Linked DNA regions of Homo sapiens: all the other regions are linked to region 4. The links are contacts of gene promoters, found by promoter capture Hi-C in human tissues and cell types (Jung and others, 2019). All regions are on one chromosome and are shown on one strand. The core of a region is centred on a gene start or on the middle of the fragment in contact, and the rest is flanking DNA. Distances in the headings are between cores, read along the strand shown.

The links. The method cuts DNA at HindIII sites, captures the fragments that hold promoters and counts their contacts. A contact is called where the count stands out against the background at its distance.
Region 1: a fragment that was not itself captured here is called in contact with the fragment with the promoter of GPR18 in region 4 in 2 of the 25 tissues and cell types used here (lymphoblastoid cells and spleen).
Region 2: a contact is called between a fragment that was not itself captured here and the fragment with the promoter of GPR18 in region 4, in 2 of the 25 tissues and cell types used here (bladder and dorsolateral prefrontal cortex).
Region 3: a contact is called between a fragment that was not itself captured here and the fragment with the promoter of GPR18 in region 4, in 3 of the 25 tissues and cell types used here (dorsolateral prefrontal cortex, spleen and thymus).
Region 5: a fragment that was not itself captured here is called in contact with the fragment with the promoter of GPR18 in region 4 in 3 of the 25 tissues and cell types used here (dorsolateral prefrontal cortex, lymphoblastoid cells and spleen).
Region 6: a fragment that was not itself captured here is called in contact with the fragment with the promoter of GPR18 in region 4 in 2 of the 25 tissues and cell types used here (lymphoblastoid cells and spleen).
Region 7: a contact is called between a fragment that was not itself captured here and the fragment with the promoter of GPR18 in region 4, in 8 of the 25 tissues and cell types used here (IMR-90 fibroblasts, heart right ventricle, liver and 5 more).

Annotation. Positions count from the first base shown.
Region 1 is chr13:99,505,850-99,509,002 of GRCh38, reverse strand. All of the region lies in intron 1 of TM9SF2 (transmembrane 9 superfamily member 2), which reads right to left. Among named protein-coding and RNA genes, the nearest start is that of TM9SF2, 6.0 kb to the right of the region's middle. The HindIII fragment of the contact is 3,611 bases long and covers 1-3,153 here.
Region 2 is chr13:99,033,040-99,036,208 of GRCh38, reverse strand. It overlaps a transcript of DOCK9 not described here. Among named protein-coding and RNA genes, the nearest start is that of DOCK9-DT, 52 kb to the left of the region's middle. The HindIII fragment of the contact is 7,887 bases long and covers 1-3,169 here.
Region 3 is chr13:99,015,561-99,018,567 of GRCh38, reverse strand. It overlaps a transcript of DOCK9 not described here. Among named protein-coding and RNA genes, the nearest start is that of DOCK9, 39 kb to the right of the region's middle. The HindIII fragment of the contact is 3,780 bases long and covers 1-3,007 here.
Region 4 is chr13:99,257,105-99,260,305 of GRCh38, reverse strand. It overlaps GPR18 (G protein-coupled receptor 18), which reads left to right and starts at 1,927. Exons shown (of 2, transcript NM_001098200.2): 1 at 1,927-2,152. The region is part of intron 4 of UBAC2 (UBA domain containing 2); the gene reads right to left. It overlaps LOC124903198 (a long non-coding RNA gene), which reads left to right. Exons shown (of 3, transcript XR_007063846.1): 2 at 58-167; 3 at 1,720-1,867. The HindIII fragment of the contact is 6,968 bases long and covers 1-1,940 here.
Region 5 is chr13:99,489,469-99,492,515 of GRCh38, reverse strand. The region is part of intron 4 of LINC01232 (long intergenic non-protein coding RNA 1232); the gene reads left to right. Among named protein-coding and RNA genes, the nearest start is that of LINC01232, 8.3 kb to the left of the region's middle. The HindIII fragment of the contact is 8,464 bases long and covers 1-3,047 here.
Region 6 is chr13:99,459,752-99,462,670 of GRCh38, reverse strand. No RefSeq gene overlaps it. Among named protein-coding and RNA genes, the nearest start is that of LNCARGI, 28 kb to the right of the region's middle. The HindIII fragment of the contact is 7,653 bases long and covers 1-2,919 here.
Region 7 is chr13:99,438,488-99,441,353 of GRCh38, reverse strand. No RefSeq gene overlaps it. Among named protein-coding and RNA genes, the nearest start is that of LNCARGI, 7.2 kb to the right of the region's middle. The HindIII fragment of the contact is 6,232 bases long and covers 1-2,866 here.

The DNA of each region.
Region 1 (3,153 bases), core at 433-2,932, 250 kb before region 4:
TGCAGTCAGTTAAGATTTTGGGAGACTATTAGGAAGGCATGATTGTATTTTGCAATATAAGAAGGACATGAGATTTGAGTATTTTTCCCCACTCAAATCTTATGTCAAGCTGTAATCCCTAATGCTGGAGGTAGGGCCTGGTGGGAGGTGACTAGATCATGGGGGTAGATGTCTAATGAATGGGTTGGCACCACTCCCTTGGTGCTGCCCTCATGATGGTGAGTGAGTCCTTGTGAGATCTGCTTGTTGTAAAGTGTGGCATCTCGCTCAACAGAAAACTCTTTCACTCCTGCTTTTACCATGTGACATGCCTGCTCCTGCTTCACCTTCTGCCATGAGTAAAAATTTCCTGAGGTTCCCACTAGAAGTCGAGCGATGTCCGTGCCATGCTTGTACAGCCTGCAGAACTGTGGGCCAATTAAACATCTTTTCTTTATAAATTACCCAGTCTCAGGTATTTCTTTACAGCAACACAAGAACAGCCTAATACAGCATATATTAAAAAAAAAATGACAGCACTTATTTATATGTTCTTGGAGTAGCTACTGAATCTCTGGGGTGTGTGTGTGTGTGTGTGTGTGTGTGTGTGTGTGTGTGTTTTGTTTGCCTTTTTTTTCCCACTCTAAACATCTTTATTCACCATCCAAAAGAGTTAAGTCCATCTCCTCCCAGAAATTTGCCTTAAATAGAGACAGATGACTCTAGATTATCACTGATGTGACTAGAAAGAACTTCAAGGTTTACTTGCTTCACATTCCCACTTTCAAACTGTCCCCACCTAGGTTATTTCAAGCATGCAAAATTTTGACAACATGAAACATTTTAAGGAAGTTGCAGAATCCTATGTCACTTAGAGAAAGCAAGACTGATTACAATCCTGTACTATGAAATGTTTTATAGAAGTGGTTTTATTTAGAACTCTACAGTCTTCCTTTTAAATTTCTCTCCTAAATGTACAATTTTATTTCTAGTCCTAATCTGCCAGTTCCATACCTGATCCCAGCTATGGTCACAACTAGTCTATTTTTTTGTTTTAACAAGGCACACGGGCCATGCCACAGGACTACACTTTTTCCCATTTCCTAGTTCGTTTCTGCTTTTATTCCCACCTTATTCTGCTATCATCACATCTGTCCCACCCCACACTTACAACTGGATTTTCAAGGGAGAAAGAAATTTCAGTGAAGAGATGTGACTGTACAAGGGTCATGGCAAATGACAAGTCACAAAAGGGTTTGAGATATGGAGGCCATAAAAAAGGAAATCTATGGAAGCTTCAACTCCTTAATATTAGAGCAGTCCACAGTGGCGCCTTCCTGAAGAAGGGAAGTCTTAACTCAGGCACAATAAAAGTCTCAAAAGCAATGCTGGGACTCACAAATGCTTATTTATGAGCTCTGAGTTATCCGATCAGCAATGCCCAGCAACTGATCTCCTAGATAATTACCAGGGTTCTTTCCCCAAAGCCCTGAAAAATACAATTTCAATTTTAGACTATATCAACGAAAGAAGTAAATATAAAACCTGACTACTTAAAAATTACACAGACACATCAAAGCTGCAATGAGTTATGACTGCACCACTGCACTCTAGCCTGGGTGACAGAGCAAGACTGTTTCTAAAAAATAAAATAAAATGAAAATTACATATAATAGATACAGAGTGTTTTCTGGAACTGTCAAAGTCCAGGGTGATAAGCGGTCAGGGATCCCCAGGGGAAAGGCAAACAAGAAGAAGAGTGCTCAGAGTAGAAGGCAGTGGCGAAGAGCCTAGGCTTTTTGGACTCAGTCTTGGGCTTGTTTGCATTCTGGCTTTAATACTTACTAGCTTTGTACACTTGAGACAGCTACTAAATCTTATTGAGCTTCTGTTTCCTCATCTAAATATCACAGAGATGTTATGAAATTTAGCTAAGGCATATACAACACACACAAATCGTAGTCTTTACCATTATTATTAGCAAAGGGCAATAAACAGGTTTGAAAAGTGAGAAGAGGAGCAAAAAGAGAAAAAATTCACAAATTTCCTCCAAAGCCTTTCATAGATAGTTAATTTTAATGAAAATAGAATGAAATTGTTGGATACATGTAAAGCAGCTAAAATTAACTACAAAACTTACTGAGAGACCATGGTGACAGGAAGCTACAGGAGAGAATAGGGAAGTAAGGGTTTGGGCAGCTGGGCTCTAAGGCTGACAGTGCACAGACCAATCTCTGTAGTGCCGATGTGTGTCTGTGTGTTTGTGTTGGGGGTGTGAGGTGTGGAACATATATCTGTGATTTGTTTCAGACGTTCCAGTTTACACCTTTGGAAGTTCAAGTTTACACCCACTTTGGTGAGGGGCCACAGGCAGAAAGACACAATTTTATTCATAGACTTTTGTTGCTTTCTTGATTCTAACTCTCAGATTCACTATAATGAACAATTACAGTCTTAATTTTACTTAAAAATCTAATTTCTGAAAGGCAAACTATCTCAGTTTAACATACCTTTTCAGAAGAAGAAGAAACAATTGCTGGAATGTATATTTACCATAGTCAAAGTAAGTCCTTCCAGTGCCAGATTTCAGATTTGAAAGAGCAACACCCAAACACTAATGAGTTCCCAGAAGCTAAGAATCAATGCTCTTATTCCAGAGAGAACTGTGAGAATGTGAAACTACATATCGATAAATATTTATCACTATACCAATAAATACACATACAGATTTTTTTTCTTTAAGTATTTCAAAATCTTCAAACTACTTCTATGGTCAAATTAAAACAGGTACATATATATTCATTCTGTGTCCGTTCAGATCAACATTCAGGACTATTTTCTTAAAGCTGACTCATTCCAATATTTATACACAACTGCTCCCAGAATAACAAACACAACTTATAAAATGCTTCTAAAAATAACTACCAAGAAAGGAAAGTATGACTGAGTAATTTTCCTTTTTATTAAAAAGTTGTTAAACTAATTCATTTAAACATTGTTTTTAACCACTAGGGGGTATAATTGGTCATTTTTCCTTACAGCAAAGGAAAAAAAATCTTAATCTTTCATCTAAGAACGTGATCTATCCATCAAACAGTAAAAAAGTGGCAGACATTTTGGAGAATTAATACTATTTTTAGTTCTTAGTTCTGAATTCTGGTTGACAACCCAGTA
Region 2 (3,169 bases), core at 502-3,001, 220 kb after region 4:
CGTTTGTAACAGTATAATAGGGTTCTCTAGTGAAACAGAATCAATAAGATGTGTATGTGTGTATGTATTATACATCCATGTATCCATATGTTTCTTTCTATTTTAAGGAATTGGCTTAAACGATCATGGAGGCTTAAAAGTCCAAAATTGCGAGGCTAGGGTAGGCAGGCAGGCAGGCTTGGAAGGCTGACAAGCTGGAGACCCAGAGAAGAGCTGATGTTGCAATTGGAGTTCAAAGTGAGTCTGTTGTCCGAATTTCTTCTTCCACAGGAAAGGTCGGTCCTTTTCTTAAGGTCTTCAACTGCTTGGATGAGGCCCTCCCAGATTATGGAGGGCAATCTGTTTTACTCAGTCTATTGATTTAATGTTAATCTCATCTAAAAATTACCTTCGCAGAAGTATCCACATGTATTTGACCAAATATCTGGGTACTGTGGCCTAGCCAAGTTGACACATAAAAGAAAGCATCACAGTTAGGATATACTTTAACAAAGATCAAAAAACAATGCCTTATAAAGGATGGAAGTTAGGTTTACTCTTAGTCCAAGTGTAAACAGTTCAGGGTTGATTGATGACTCTACCATTTTGGGGTCCCAGGCTCCTTCTATCTTGTTGCTCTGCCATTTTCCACATAGTACTTCCTTGTAGCAGAAAAGGGAGATGGTATGGGAATGGTGTACTCCTTCCCATTTAAGTGCATGACTTTAAAATTGCACGTATCACTTAACACGTCCCATTAGCTTTAACTTTAACCATCCCATTAACTGGAACCCAATCCAGTAGACACACTTCAGTGCAAGAGAGACTGAGAAATGTAGTTTTTGGCTGGGTAGCCAGAGGCCCACCAGCACTGCTATTACTATATCAAAAGGGAAGGATAGATGTTGGGGTGAGGGAGGTATTCATCAGTCTCTGATAGTGTTCATTCATGTTTTGTGTTGCATTACATTTGATTGGAGTTCAGAATGTTTACTAATATTAAATCTGCTCATTCAAATTTGAGAGATTGAGAGTTGTGACACAACTTAAGTTTCATAATTAATGTTATTGAATTTGATCTTTCTTCTGCATCTTAAAGCACGTGTCTTGAGCAAACCTGCACATGAAAGTTGACATACCAAATGGGAAGCTGAGACAGAAGACAGAAACACAGATTCAGAAACCCACCTTGTTAAGACTGTTCCACTTCATTCTTTAGGAAGTAGGTGACTGTGAAAGTTTTGGAGCAGTGTTAGAATATGACAGATTGGGGTAATGGGAAGATAATCCGGTGGTTCCACATTGATTGCTGGATGACATCCAAATGCATCCATATGGCTTACAAGGAACTGCCTGTCTGTTTCACCTCAACTCCTGGCATCCACCTTTACTGCCTGTGTTCTGGCCACACCGAATCACAGTTCCTTCACTGTTCCTTATTATTACGCATCTCTATGTCTTCTAACAACTCTGCTCACCATTTTTGTTACCTTTTTAAAATAGAAATTTGAAGATTAAGGAAAACAGATAAAGGGCCCTTAAATTGGAGCCTACTCAGGTCCACCTATCTGTCTCTGCTGTTCGTTGAGTGCTGCGGTGTTTCAGGAATGTGTTAGGTGCATTCTTTTTGTCACCTCTCCATCCTCATGGCACCCCTGAGGGGTGTGCCATTATCCATGTTTTGCAGATGAGGAGCTGAGGCAGAAGTTTAATGATTGACTCAAGGTTACAACAGTCAGAAACTGACAGAACCAGGAATTTTGGCTGACTTCTGAGCCTGGGTTTTTCCCACCACATATTGTTCTCTTTGGAAAGAAGGTCTTAGGCTTAAGATGATTAGTAAACACAGTATATCAAGGGGCTGTGGAATCTCTGGGAGCTTCAGCTTCAGTTTGGAGTTACACCTCTTGGGTGTGCTACTGGAGAGCTGTTACCTCAGTGACTTGTGATGTGACCTGCTTTGCCGACTCTGTACTTATGTTGGGGGAAACTGGGGAAATGAGGGAGGAAGCAAATTTGGAATATGGTTTTAACCAGTTGGAATGAATTCATCCTTGACTCCTGAAAGCTTGTAATCTTCATAATCTCTTTTCTAGTGTTGCTATTTTGGATATGAGGTATGGGATAGCAGATGAATGCTTTAGGGTTGTGTGAGCTGAACAGTATTAAAAATGTGCTTTTCTCTCATCCTGAGGATCTTCCATTAATCCACTAGATGGAGCAGCTGGTTTGAATATATTTCATGATTAGAAGTTGGAAGAAAAGACATGGTGTTCATATCAGAGCCATGTCACAGACCCCCTGAAGTTGGCCAGGCATTTTGATCTCTATTTTTTCCTCTCTAAATATAAAACTTTTATTTACTCAGCACATCTATATGTAGGGAGCATTTGAGGTTCTTCTGGGACCTGACAGAAAACCATCATGGTAGAGTAGAAAGAATTCTAATCTGAAGTCTGGGGATGTGAGAGTAGAAGTCCTAGTTCAGACACTTTAGTTCTCTGTGACTTTGGTCTTTAACCGTCTTTAAGCCTCAGTGTCCTCACTTTTATCACTGTTGCAATAGGTGAGATGTGAGATGTGCCTTCTACAGGTTAGGTATATTGGGCCTCTGTGCCATCCCTTTAGACCACCTGCGCGATCAAAGATGCACGAGCTTCCATTTTGCCTGACTTGAAACTGCACTCGCTGACAGTGTCTACAACATGGAAAATCCATCCCACTGAAGACTGGAGGGTTTGTTGACGGCATTAGTTCATTTGCCTTTGTGATACTTCCGTCACCCACGGGCATTCCCGCTCATGCATGAACCCCTCCTTGGGGCAGTAGTTTCATTCCCTCACAAATGGTTTATCCTATTTTAGGGCAACACTGGTTATTAGAGTTTTTACTTATTGGTCCTGGTTGATCCTTCCAGAGCAGCCCATATCTTGTAATCTTATCTGTCTTTCATATTCAGATTTTCTGTTTTAGAACTAAGGTGGAATATTTGTTTTTTGCCTTCTCTACTACTGGTCCTGCCTGAATGATATGCTATATAAGAAATTAGACATGTTATCAAAATGCTTTTTAGTTTTTAGTTCTCAACTGATAGATAGGAAGGTGGCTATGTATGTTTAAATCTGCTACCTGTACTCAGATGTCTTAAAACATCATATGTCCTAGAATTTTAAGGTTTCATAACAAGGAA
Region 3 (3,007 bases), core at 10-2,509, 240 kb after region 4:
GTTGGTTGGAAAATGACTAATACTTAAAATTTGGCACAAGTTGCTTCAATGTGTATATGTCTTGGTCCATTTTCTGCTGCTATAACAGAATACCACAAACAGGGTAATTTGTAATGAACAGAAATTTATTCGTCCCACTATTCTAGAGTCTGGAAGATGTAAGAGCATGGCAGCAGCAGCTGGTAAGGGTCTTCATACCACATCATCCTGTGGTGGAAGGTGAAAGGTGGAAGGAAAAGAGAACATGCAAGAGTGAGAGAGAGAAAGGGGACTGACCTCATTCTTTTATTAGAAACCCACTCTTGAGAACACCATTAATCAGTGAGGCTCTGCCCTAATCACTACTGGAAGGTCCCACTTCCCAGCACTGTCCATTGAAGATTAAGTTTCTAACTCATGAACTTTGGGGGACACATTCAAACTGTAACATTTTATTAATTTATCTCCAGAAAACATTGCTTTTTCCTTTGAATGAGTTAGGAAATTGTTTCATTCTCTCTTATTGTTTTTTTAAAATTTAGCTTTTACTTTTATTTATCTTTTTTAGCTTTATTGAGATATGATTGGCAAAATTGTATAAATTTAAGGTATACAATATGATGATATATGTTGTGAAATGATTACCACAATTGAGTTAGCTAACACACCTATTACCTCACTTAGTTACCTTTTTTCTTTATTTTTTTGTGGTGAGACCATTTAGACCAAGCTTGTCCTACCCGCAGCCCTCAGGCCACATGTGGCCCAGGCTGGCTTTGAATGTGGCCCAACAAAAATTCGTAAACTTTCTTAAAACATTATGAGATTTTTTGTGATTTTTTTTAAAGCTCATCAGCTATCATTAGTGTTAGTATATTTTATGTGTGGCCCGAGACAATTATTCTTCTTCCAGTGTGGTCCAGGGAAGTCAAAAGATTGGACACTCCTGATTTAGACTCTTGTTTTAAACACGAATGGAGGGTTCTAAAAGTAAATCAAACAGCATATACCAGCAGCTTCCAATTTGCTTGGTTATTTCTAATTCTCGGTAAAGTTCAAACGTAATCTTTTGTATCTCAAATAATATTCCCTGGCTTCTGCAGGCAGGATGTCTAAAATATGTCATAACAATAACAAATTAATTTTACATTTCCAGGTACTCTCTTTATTTCTGTTGAATGAACTATTGCTTTTAAAGCTATTTCTCTTGCTGTATAGGAGTCAGGTTAATTGGTAGATTTTCTGAATTCTCAAAACTGACATTTAACTTATGTGTTTAGTGTTTTATAGTCTCCAATATTCAGTTTCTGGGTAGGTGAGTTTCTAGTTGTTTATCTGTCAGCATTGTGATTTCGCATGAAGATTCTCCTAGTGTCACAACTTGGGTGTAATCTTGAACCCTATAGCTCTGTTTTCACAGAATCACCCTTTGGAAGTGGAATGCTCTAGACCCCAGAGGGTCATCCTGTTTTTTGCATGTGGCCAACATCTCCCCATCTTTGATCTTGTACAGCTATCAGACACACTTTGCATAAAAATACAGGAGAGAGAATAAGCCTAGATTTTTGGTTTTCTGTGGGGCCCAATGGCTAAACTACTCATAGAAAACAGACATTATGGGATCACGTGCCCGGATGGTATTCCCTACAGGTATGATTTTACTACATGCGTGGGTTTACACAGCCCCCAGGTACTCAGTCAGTTAATTCACTCTAACTTTCACATCTATAGAGAGAAATGAAATTATCTGTTGCCTTGTGAAATAAGGAATAATATCAGAGCAGATTTTAAAAGATTGATCACTTTTTTCCTAGTTACATATTGTGGCTGGGAAAAGTTTTCCTGTATGTGCAGCATGGTCTTTTTATATAGTTAGCCTTTCATTGTTGAAGAAGGAAAATGGCAAGAGTCAACTTGGTATCATATCATTGACAAGCTTCCCTGTTAGCCATTCCCAGAGATTCACGTGAGGTAGTGTAGTGTCACTGAGTTCAGTCTACAGTAGAAGGAGTTGGATTACTTACACACCAAACATAATCATGCTGACTGTGAGACCTCAGCATGTATTTCCCATTGCATACTGGAGTGCTGCTTCAGAAGGCATGCATCTAGCCAGACTGGGTAGCCCTTTATTCATGTTCTCATTTGCATCTTTGGGTACCAGAGACGGGAGAATCCTTTTAAGCAGTGCAATCTTGCTAGCCCTCTCTAGCAAAGAGTAGAGGTGGGCTGAAGTCAAGATCGACACAGCAATGTTGTGTTCCCTTGTGGTTTGCTGTCAGCAAGCTGTTATCCATACGTGCAAAAGATTGTTTGAAGTGGGCTTGCATGTGTTTCCATAGCAGCAGTCATCTTAGAGATTTCACTCGTTTTTTGGACTTTTTTTTTTCCTTTGCTTCTCTGTTTCCCGCTGATGCAGGATTAAATAAACAGCATATTTAGGTCAAGGAAAGAGATGTTTGCTAATATAGATGCTAGGCTAAGCATTCTGGGAGAGCGATTTCTTGCAGCAGATGAACATTCTTTGTGCCTCCCAGCAGCATCTGCAGCAGTGTGGCTGTCTGGCACTGTCTTTTTCATTTTGGGCAGGTTCTGAGATTCAGAACAATCCCAAGCAAATCACAGGAGCCGGCAGTTTTCCAGTAGAGCCACATGTAAATCTCCTGCTTATTTGTTCTTTGGTATTAAGAGTGAAGCAATCAGCTAGAAAAACGATACTTTAAAGGTTTGGTGCATCCGAGGTGTGTCATCTTGTGTTTGCACCACCCCTCCTGTTTTACACTCGGAGTCTGGATTTTTTGTCAGGCTGTTGAGCAGGAGCGGATTCTAGTACGGCAGCTCAGAGCTTCCCTTCTGTTCCAGTACCGGTGACTGCTTGTCACGAAGATGGTACAGTGGGAGCCTGTTTCGGAAGAGCCAAGGAAGAGGATGTGGAAATGGAGTAGAGATTGCTAAAAAACTGAACATCCACACCTTGGGGATGGGTTGCACTACTAGTGTGATTCTGTTTAAAGGCATCCGCACCGTT
Region 4 (3,201 bases), core at 678-3,177:
GTGGAGGAGAAAAAGCAAGTAAATATGCAGTAACAATGCAAACATGTGCCACTACAGGGATAGGTACCAAGTGCTAAGGAAACCTGCAGGGATGAACAACCAGCCCAGCTTCGGAGGGCAGAGAAACCAGCCCAGCTTCGGATGGCAGAGAAAGCTTCCTGAAAAAGGTAGCTACAAGAACAAAGAGCAGCAGGCCATGCCATCAGGTGGGAGACAGTGGTGAGGAATGCCACAGTGGGTGGAACAGCATGTGAGAGGCAGGAAGAGCAAATGTAGCCAGTCCAGAGGGCTGGAATGGAGAGCAAGATGAGGAAAAAGTGAGAGCTCACCCCAACCTGAAGCCAGGCCTATGGAGAGCCCTCAGGTGCTCCTGGATGCCTCCTCTAAGAGTCTGGCAATTCAGAAACAAGAATGCCCCTGTGCACCGTGAAGAATTCAAGTCTTGATGAAAGGACTCTTCTAGACACATGCCATCAATGTATCTGTTGATTTTAGCAGCAATGGGGAAGCTAATCAATACTTAATTTTAGAAAAGTCCTAAGCTATGTGAATAAGGCAAAGGACAGATTAGGTCTGCATGCAGGCAGATTTCTGTCCAGCTGAAACATCAAACTCCTGTGTGATGAATGAAATATAACATCACATATAAAAAACTGATGAATGTGATTCAGCCATAAGAAGTCCTATCTAGTGGACAGATCAATATAATTACCTCATAAGAAGTTATTACAGCGGGAGAAACTGGACCTGGCTTTACCTTGAGTTCTTAAGCAAGTAACTGGCCTTCAATTTCTTCATCCACACAAGAAATAGTTGCTATGGTTGTCTCCAACACTTCTAAAACCCATCATTCTGGCAGGTTGTAACAATCAAAAGTATTTTATCACCAAAGGCAAGGATTTAAGTAACTTTTCTAAGCCACAGATTTACTATGGTTTTGTCTGAGAAAAAAAAAAAAAAGGATGGACCCCAAACTGTCTAAAATTCAAAAAAACAAATACATTTAAGTTCATGAACCCTTTAAAAAGTTGACAAACCATGCATAACCAAACATAAAGATAATTAAAATTTTAGGATAAGCAAATGAGAGATAATTTTTTTTAAGAAATGAGAAAGTAAAACAAAATTAACCTAACAAGGCAGGCAGCGATTCGTTGCTCACTTCCCTTTCTGCTGGTTTCATTTCCCTTCTTAGGTGAAAACACTCTTAATATGTAAATCAGTCCACTAAAGACTTCAGAGTCCTTTCTGCTAAGATTTGCAGAAATTTTTATGCAAAAGAAATTATTTCTAGACTTCCACGCACTAGAAAAGCAGACTTACAAAATACAGCAAACTAAAGTGGATAAATGTATGTGGCAAAGCAGAAGCAATTAATCAAGGATCCTACTTTTAAGCATTTAGAAATGTTTAAATAGTAAAAAGTGGAAATGTGGATATTCTATGATTTTTAATAACTTGGTAGTAAAAAGTGAGACTCCATTTAGGAGTACCTACTAAGTGCCAGGTACTATTAAGCACTTGGGATCTTTCTGGTTTAGGGCCCCTACAATCCTACTGGATATAGTATTATCTCTATTTCAACTGTACAGAAATGAAGTAGGAACAAAGGGTTAGTCAGAGTGGGTAGGTAACTAGACAAAGTCACATAGCTTATAAAGCAAAGAAGCTAGACTTTAAACCCCCTTTTACTCAATATCAAATCTTCTCTTTCCATAGATGATGCAGACTTCAAGCATCAAAGTACACAAACTGAAGAAACTTTATCCTTTGTATATAATTATCTTAAATATATGCCATCATTTCAAGGGGAGCTTATGCTAAGTGTGACTTCATAAACAAATCATTTGTGAAAGAGAAAAACCACATCCAGGGTAAAGTCATAAGGTGAAAAAGCCTATTTCAGAGAGCACTTCCTGAAAGAGACAAAGCAGCAATTAAAGTCAGCCCAGCACCAACTCCGACGCCAAGCGTTACACTGGAAACTACTTTTTAAAGCAACAAAAGAGTCTAAAACAAAATACAACATTTCTTAAATACACTGTTTCCAGAAAGAGCTATTTTAACAGAAGCAACTCAAAGATATCCCTTCGACAGAAGTGGAAGTGCTGAAAAATGCTCATCTCTCACACAGACTTTTGATGGACAGGAGGTAAGCAGCATTTAATTAACTTCATGATTATTGTCAAAAGTAATGCTTTATGTACTGCATTTCAAAAATCATTTCATTTTAATAATACAGGCTGGGCGCAATGGCCCACGCCTGTAACTCCAACACTTTGGGAGGCCAAGGCAGGAGGATCAGTTGTGCCCAGGAGCACCATAGTGAGACCCCGTCTCTATTAAAAAAATATATTTAATTAAAAAAATAAACATAACAAACTATGTTGGTGAAAGACCTTGAAATAGGCTATATAATCATCTTTCCACATTAATATGATTTTACATTTATTTTCAATATTGCTTTACATTAATACTAAATGTAATTTTTTTCAACTTAAGGAAAGAAAATGTTTATGGTAAATCATATGTATATTTAGGAATGTTCATCACATGTTTTCAATTACATTGTTTCATGAAATAACTTAATGGTTTTTAAGAAAAGAAAAGCTACAGATAATCATGGTATCTATAGCTTTTAAAAAGCTGACTTTAAAGTCAATCACTTTTCAATATTTATCCAAAAATTTCTGTGTTTGCAGAGCACAATCAATACTATAATGCCTTTAAAACACATGCATCACTCATTTTTTTTCAAACGTCAGCAAATGAATATAAGTATTGGTGACAAGCTACATAAAAACAGCTTGAGCATAACGTGGGAAAAAAGACTCAAGATGGTTTGTAAGTACAGGACTTATGTCACAAAATTGAAGGATGAGGATAGGTGAAGGGAGTCCTGATGCAATACTAAAAAAAGAAAAACAAATACAAAATTTCATTTATATTATAATTGCTACTATTTAATAAGAATGCATTCCAGTTAAAAATAAGATTTAAGCCTCCAAGATTACTCTCCTTTGAATGACACTAGAGATATAATTTTTCTCTGTAGCACTTTCCTCATTTGATAGAAATTAATATTCTAGTCACACCAATATTTGGAAAATTTAATATGTTTTTAAATATATAGAATTATGCTCCTAAATCATATTTAACCTAAATATTTGAGAAGGAAAGAAGGAGAAGAAGGGAAGAAAG
Region 5 (3,047 bases), core at 414-2,913, 230 kb before region 4:
AGACTGAAGGGGCCTGAGGTCTTCCTCACTGCCCCTGTTCAGGAACATTGTAATTACTACTGAGGAGCCCCAGGTAACTCTGGACGTCATGGGCACCCAAATTCAGTTTCTTTTTGATGCAGGAGCAAATTACTCTGTTCTTACTGCTTATGCAGTAAGGCGTTCCTCCCAGTCCACAAGTGTTATGGGAATAGAATGGAAGCCACAAACGAGTTTTTATTTTATTTTATTTTATTTTATTTTACTTTAAGTTCTGGGATACATATGCAGAATGTGCAGGTTTGTTACATAGGTATACATGTGCCATGGTGGTTTGCTGCACCTATCGACCCATCATCTAGGTTTTAAGTCCCACATGGATTAGGTATTTGTCCTAATGCTCTTCCTCCCCTTGCCCCCAACCCCCCAACAGGCCTTGGTGTGTGATGTTCCCCTCCCTGTGTCCATGTGTTCTCATTGTTCACCTCCCACTTATTAGTGAGAACATGCGGTGTTTGGTTTTCTGTTCCTGTGTTAGTTTGCTGAGAATGATGGTTTCCAGCTTCATCCATGTTCCTGCAAAGGACATGAACTCATTCTTTTTTATGGTTGCGTAGTATTCCATGGTGTATATGTGCCATATTTTCTTTATCCCGTCTATCACTGATGGGCATTTGGGTTGGTTCCAAGTCTTTGCCATGGTAAATAGTGTTGCAGTAAACATACATGTGCATGTATCTTTATAATAGAATGATTTATAATCCTTTGGGTATATATCCAGTAATGGGATTGCTGGGTCAAATGGTATTTCTGGTTCTAGATCCCTGAGGAATCACCACACTGTCTTCCACAATGGTTGAACTAATTTACACTCCCACCAACAGTGTAAAAATGTTCCTACTTCTCCACAGCCTCACCAGCCTGTTTCCTGACTTTTTAATGATCACCATTCTAACTGGTGTGAGATGGTATCTCACTGTGATTTTGATTTGCATTTCTCTAACAACAAGTGATGAGCATTTTTTCATATGTTTGTTGGCTGCATAAATGTCTTCTTTTGAGAAGTGTCTGTTCATATCCTTTGCCTACTTTTTGATGGGGTTGACAAACAAGATTCATTACTCCTCCTTTGATTTGTCAATTTGAGAAACAACTCTTCCAACAGGATTTCCTAGTAGTACCAAGCTGCCCAATCCCCCTGTTGGGAAGAGATATTATGGTTAAAATGGAGGCACTACTACAATTTAAGCATCACCCATTGAAATTGCTGATAGTCAAAAATACAGTGTTCCAGACCACATTAATAAATAGGTTAACCCGCTGGCATTGGTATACTGGAAAACCAGGGAAGGCTAAAACAGCAGTGCCAGTCAAAATACATTTTAAAGACCTCAGCTAGTTTCCCAATTGAAAATAATATCCAATTAAGCAGGAAGCAAGAAAAGGCCTAGCACCCATAATTGAGGTATTACTTATTACATGGGCTCTTAAAATCCTGTAATTCCCCTTGCAATACCTGTTCTAAAGCCTTTGGGGGAATACCAGTTAGTATAGGACTGGAGAATACCGGTTAGTATAGGACCTGAGAATAATTAATGAGGCTGTTATCCCCGTCCACCCACTGGTGGCAGATCCATATACCCTTATGGCTCAGGTACAAGGGGATGCAAAATGGTTCTCAGTCCTGGACCTAAAAGATGCTTTCTTCTCCATCCCTCTGGCCCCAGAGTCCCAATACCTTTTTGCCTTTGAATGGGAAAATCAATATGAGGGAAAAACAGTAATATACCTGGACAGTGCACCCTTAGGGCATTCAGGATAGCCCCCATTGGATTGCCCGAGCCTTAGAGAGGGATCTGAAGGATCTGAAAGTGAAAAATGGGAATATACTCCAGTATGTGGATGACTTTCTTGTGTGTAGCCCAAACCCAGGAGGTTTCTGACCAAACTACTATAAAAACTTTGAATTTCCTGGCAGACAGGGGATACAAAGTGTCCGACAAGAAGGCACAGATTATCCTCCAATGGGTGCAATATTTAGGGTATGTCTTAACACCCAGAGCCTGACAAATATCCCCAGAACGAGAGCAAGCCATAGGTGGTTTGCCCCCTGCCCCCTCCCCAACCCCCCCACCTGCCACACCTAGTAGCAGCTTTGTTCTTTTTTGGGAATGGCCAGGTTTTGCAGAATATGGGTACCAAATTTCAGACTCATAGCAAAGCCCCTATATGAAGCAACAAAGGGGCCTGAAGACGAGCTAAAGGAATGAACCCCAGAATTGAGAAAAGCCTTTGCCAAGTTAAAACAGGCTCTCGCTCTTGGCATCCCAGACCTACCTAAGCCCTTCTCTTTGTACGTAGCAGAGAAGAAGGGCATAGCTGTGGGTGTACTAGCCCAGACATTAGGATCAGAACCCAGACTAACCACTGACTTTCCAAAGAAGTTGGATGGAGTGGCCTCGAGGTGACCAAGTTGCCTGCGGCCAACAGCAGCCACTGCTATGTTAGTGGAGGAAGCCACTGAAATCGCTCTGAGCCAACCACTGGAAGTTCTCACCCCCTCATCAGGTTAAGTCTGTCTTAGAGATAAAGGGACACATCTGGATGACAGGGGAAAGATGAACCAAATACCAGGCCATGTTCCTAGACAATCCAGATGTAACCCTTAAAACCTGCAACACTTTGAATCCAGCTTCAGTGCTGCCCACAGGCCCAATAACTGATCATTCCTGCAAGCAGGTCATTGCACATACACAATGTTAGCCAGCCTGCTTTAAAAGACAAGCCTCTCCCAGATTCTGAGGATGAGTGGTTCACAGATGGCAGTAGTTTTGTGTCAAATGGGGTTTGACACAGCACTGAGCTGGATATGCAGTAGTAATTATCGAAGCCCAGCCACTGCTCCTTGGCACATCAGCACAAAAGGCTGAAATCATTGCTCTTACTTGAGCATTAATGTTGGTACAAGGAAAAAAGCTTAACATCTATATCGATTCTAAATATGCATTCCTTGTGGTTCATGTTCATGCTACAGTCTGGAAAGAAAAGGGATTTCTAACTAGAAAACA
Region 6 (2,919 bases), core at 412-2,911, 200 kb before region 4:
TGCCCCAGCCTCCTGAGTAGCTAGGATTACAGGTGTGTGCCACCATGCCCAGCTAATTTTTGTATTTTTAGTAGAGACGGGGGTTTCACCATGTTGGTCAGGCTGGTCTCGAACTCCTGACCTCATGATCTGCCCACCTCGGCCTCCCAAAGCGCTGGGATTACAGGCATAAGCCACCTTTCACTACATATTCTGAAAGCTTAAACACCTGAGAGAACTCAGAAAGAAAACGCACATGGATTGAGAACAGCATTAAGTTCTTTCCCAATAAGTTATTTCCCAATTTATCTGCATTTGTCTGAGTAAAGAAATACATTTCTAGTTGCAAAGTGAAATTATAAGCAGGTTCTTTCCCTTCAAAATGATTTTTCATCCTTCCAAGAGCCAGTGGGAAAATATGGGAAGAATTCATTTCCAAACAAGGCAGTTAAAGGTTACAACTTCTAACCATCAGGAGCCAAAGCCTGCTCATGCATGCTGATGGTGGACAGGGATTCAGGGGTCCTCAGGGAACTCATGTCCCCCCTCCTCTGGTCAGTGGAGGATCATTGCATTGACCAGCGAACCTCAGCAGTTTCAATGTAGCAATGCAGATGTCCATGGGCTGTGCTGCTGAGATGGCCTTTGGGTCTTCCCTCTTATGAGAGGGCTGAGTGTGGCCCTTATCCTTCTAAAGAGAGGTCTACAAAGCAGCGGGGCTGGGGTTACAAATTCATAGAGAATAGGCAGACAACTATGGGCTGGAGATGTCCAGGAAAAAATATCCACTGGCCATTTAAAATACTAAGCCAGGAGCCAATCACATATTTATATTAAAAATAGCAAGCTGCCCAAATCCAAATGATTTATTGCAATCAAGTTGCAACAGCAGACTTCCTACCTGGAGATATCAAATACTTAGTGGGTTATTTAAGTAACCAAAGCAAAAAAGTCTCATTACAAACAGGTATTTATTATGTGGACAAAGGGGTATTGTCCTTGCACTCTCTTATTAAAATACTCTTCAGTGAAATAGTTATCATTAATCCCATATCATAGATGAATAAACTGAGGTTCAGTAAGTTAAGAAGTTTACTCAGTTGTTTTAAACATTTGTCAAATCAGATGACTCCCTTCTCTGAAATAGGCCTATTTTTTTTCTCTCTCTCTCATGGAAAGATTTAAATTACACATAAATTGGGAGAATATACAAGAACTCTCCACGTACCCATCACGCAGGCATAACAAGCATCAAGTCATGGGTCTCTCTCTGTCACCCAGGCTGGAGTGTAGTGGCGTGATCATGGCTCATTGTAGCTTTGACCTCCTGGGCTCAAGCAAGACTCTTGCATCAGTATCCCAAATAGCTGAGACTACAGGCACATGCCACCATGCCCAGCTAAGTTTTGTAATTTTTGTAGAGACAGGGTTTTTTCATGTTCCCAGGCTGGTCTCAAACTTCTGGGCTCAAGCAATTCTCCCACTGTATTAGTCCATTTTCATACTGCTATAAAGAACTGCCCGAGACTGGGGAATGTATAAAGGAAAGAGCTTTAATTGACTCACAGTTCAGCATGGCTGGGGAGGCCTCAGGAAACTTACAATCATGACAGAAGGTGAAGGGGAAGCAGGCACCTTTTTCACAAGGCAGCAGGAAGGAGAAGTGCTGAGCGAAGGGGAAACAGCCCTCTAAAATGCCCTCAGATCTTGTGAGAACTCACTCCCTATCACGAGAACAGCATGGGGGAACAGCCTCTTGCATGAGGCAGAGCAAGACCGCATCTCCTAAAAACTGGAGGGCATGGGGAGGGACTGATTTCTCTTTGCCAACCTAGGCCCTTACAATTGGCCATGGGACTTCCAGTCATAATTCTAAGTGAGGGTTTCAAGCACATTTAATGAGCACTTTCTTATTTATTCTTTAACAGAAACATTAAAACTGCAAAGGAAGAATAATGTTTAGATGGAGAAGTTTCTCCCAAAATTTGCCAAATATTATCCAGTGTCTTTTCTTACTGCAGTATGTATAACTTATCTTCTGAAAAAGAAGATGTATTACTGTGACTTAATACCAACACAACAGACACAGTTTGTTCATCCTATTTGTTCTTCACCAGAAAGGAAAGAACATTACCCATATTTAATTTATAAGCTGGAGGAACATCTGACCAAGGCCATTTCAGAACATAAATTTCTCTCAGCAAGCATAAGCGGAAATTCAGGCCCACCAGTTTTTGTATCAGTTTGCTGTAATAACAAATGGCTCTGGTAGCAGAGGAAAACTTTTTCCTCTATTCTTTCATGTTCCATGCCTGAGGCCTGTGAATTAAACTGACAAAGACAGATTAAAAAGAGGAAAACGTGAGAGTTTATTTATGCATGTAATTCATATACACACAGAAGTCAGTACGTAACTCTGATTTCGGTGAGTGACTAACTCAAAGGAGTGGATAGACAGGCTTACATACCACCTTAGAAGGGAATGAGTAGGAAAAGAAAGGCACTTATGTGAAAACAACGACTTTTCAGAGAGGTAAATGGGGCTGGGTGTGGTGGCTCACTCCTGTAATCCCAGCATTTTGGAAGGCTGAGATGGGAGGATCGTTTGAGCCCAGGAGTTCAAGACCAGCCTGGGTAAGACAGTGAAATCCCATCTTTACAAAAAATACAAAAATTAGCCAGGCATGGCGGCACGTTTCTGTGGTCCCAGCTACTTGGGAGGCTGAGGTGGGAGAATTGCTTGAGCCTGGGAGGTTGAGGCTGCAGTGAGCTGTGATCACGCCACTGCACTCAGCCTGGGCAACAGAGCAAGACCCTGTCTCAAAAAAAAAAAAAAAAAGATAAATGGGTTTTGAGGAGAACAAACAGGAGATAAGGAAGTTTGTGATAATGTTTTTCTATACAGTTATGAGTGATATGCCTCCTCTTTCATGTCTCCTT
Region 7 (2,866 bases), core at 214-2,713, 180 kb before region 4:
GTTAAGCACCACAAAAAGATTTAACTCATGCAAAAATGAAACTTGGGAAAGTGTACCACATTTAAAATCAATGGATTGATCTAATCTCCAGAAATAAATAAGAAAACGACCTTGCATAATCAATTATGCTATTACAATTAACTATACACAAAATGAGAGAAGAAACATTTTAAATGCTTAAACATTGTGTAATTTCTACTTCATTCTACAAATATTCCAGCAAAGGCTTAATTTCCCTAGTAGATAAGGAGCTCTAGATACAAACCAATAAGAAAAAAAGAACAACAACAAAATGGTCAAAGGAAATGACCTACCTACTCACAGATACAAGGTACAAAAGGGTCTTAAACATATAAAGAGATGTGCAATCTTACTCATAAGAAAAGTACAAATTAAAATTATACTCATGTCATTTTTATCTATTAGATTGGCAAAGATTAAAACATTTGATAATATACTCTGTTGGCAACTCTTATTTCTTGCAGGGGGAGGGTGTAAATTGGTATAACCTCTTTGGCAGTCATTCTGGCAATATTTATCAAAATTGCAAATACACATACCTTTTGAAACCTTTTGAAAATCCACTTCTTTTTGTTGCAGATACCCTTGCATGAATGAATATTATTTTGAAAAGGTAATTAATTGCTCTTTGGCTTGCAAAAGGCTGGAAACAAAATGTCCACATAGCACAGCTATACAGTGAAACAATAGGCAACTGTAAAAGAAAAAAAGAATAAAGGAATTCCTTTAAAACACTACTGTAGGTGGGGGAAAAATATGTTCCTTCTACCCTTCTAGGTTCTCAGCTGGGGCCCTTGTAACAAAAGACAGATGAACAAGAGAAAAGAATACAAATTTATTTAAATGTTACCTGACATGGGAGCCTTCATAAGGAAATAGGGACCTGAAGAAATGCTTAAACCTGAGTGTTTCTAGCCTTGATTTGATAGAATGCTGAGTCATAGAAAAATGTGGTAGGACAGAAAAGGTATGAGCTAAGAGTAGTAAACTGGGGGAAAGTTAGCAAGGTCTGTGCATTCAGATTGTTCCTGGGGTCCCCCTGTCTCCCTCTCACATGAGGGTCTCCTGACCTGCTTCAGGGGAAAGTCAGGGAACCCTTTCTCTACTTACCAGTTCTCAAATTCCTTCAGCTTAAAATATTCACTATGCCAAGGTACATGTTTTGGGGTAGCATCCTGAATGCCCCTCCCTCCTACGGAATGATTTCTAAGCTATCAAGAATGAAAAAAGCAGCGGTGCGTGCACGTTTTTGCTCATAGATGCAGAAGATATCCTGCGAGGATACACGTGATGCTGGTGACACTGGTTGCCACTACCAAGACCTGGGGGAGGGGCGTGCATCCTTCTGCACCTTCCGAATTTTGGACGACATCAATGCATAACCATATGCAGTAAGCTGATCACAATTTGGTAGTACTTTTGAATTACGAATGCTGTTACTAGCTTGTCTTTGATACATTTATCCATTCAGCCAGTGGTTACGTAGCCAGCACAGAACAGGGGTCGATCCAGCACCATCACGGAAGGGCTGCTCTGGTCCGAAGTCTTCAGAGCTTCCGGTGTCCCAGAGTGGAGAATCTCGCACCATAAACCCTCCTCTGTCTAATATTCACTGACTTTCAACAGCAGTGTGTTACGATGCTATGAAAGTCTGTCTTTCTGCCCCTCGTGTCTTCAAATCCCCACTTCCCATAAGCAGGGGACTAAGAAACTAAGGGGTTGCCAGTGTAAAGAAGCGCTACCCTGTAGCACTGTAGAAGGACGGTGGGCACTGGGAGCCACTGATGTCCCCGATACGATGGAGCACGGGCAGATTTGCCCTTTGGGGACAAGATTTGACGACCAGGCAGGCACCTGCTGCAATTATTCCAGTAACGTCAAAGGTGAGTGAAAAGCAAACCCGTGTAGAAGAAGCTGTAGCAGCTGTCAATCCCAGGTTATCTTAATTATGCCTCCCTGGACAGAACTGGTAAGTGGTAACTGGCTCTCTCCTGCAGAAATGAATCAAGCCAGTGCCACACTTGAGTAGGTGCACTTGAGTAGGAACATTTGCGCAGTCCTTCACATTGCAGAGACTTGCTTGCATGGTTATCATGCCAGTTCTGCTGTTTTGGCCAAAGGTGCACAGTTCTGTCCCACTTTGTCCTGTCAAAAGCCTCTTGTCCTCGTGCTGTCAGCCTCACCTCTGATTCCAGCCCTGGGGAGGGTGAACAGCTCCAACAAGTCTCAGCTCAAGCGAGCGCAGCTTGTCTGTTGCGTCCCACACGTGGTAGGCTGAAAAATGGCTCCCCAAAGGTAAGTCCACATCATAGTCCATGGATCCTGTAAATGTGGCCTTATTTCGGGAAAAGGTCTTTGCAGATGTGACTAAGGACCTTTGGATGAGGAGAGCGTCCCGTCTTATTGCCAGATAAGCCCTGGATGTCATCACAAGAGTTGTTTTAAGAGAGAGGCAGAGGAAGATGTGAGGACACACAGAGGAGAAGGTGATGTGAAGATGAGGTAGAGGTCAGAGTGACAAGCCCACGTGGCCACAAGCTTAGCTGGAGGAGGTCAGGAAGGATCCTCCCCTAGAGCCCTTGGAAGAGGGCAACAAGTATCTGCAATAAATATGGGAATGCAGGTATCTTTTCAAGATACTGATTTTGTTGTCCTTGGATATATACCTAGTAGTGAGATTGCCAGATCATATCCATTCTATTTTTCATTTTTTGGGAACCTCCATACTGCTTTCCATTATGGCTGTACAAATTTACGTTTCCACCAAGAGTGTGCAAGGGTTCCCTTTTTGTCCACATCCTCACCAACACATCTTTCATCTCTTTGGTAATAGCCTTTCTAACAG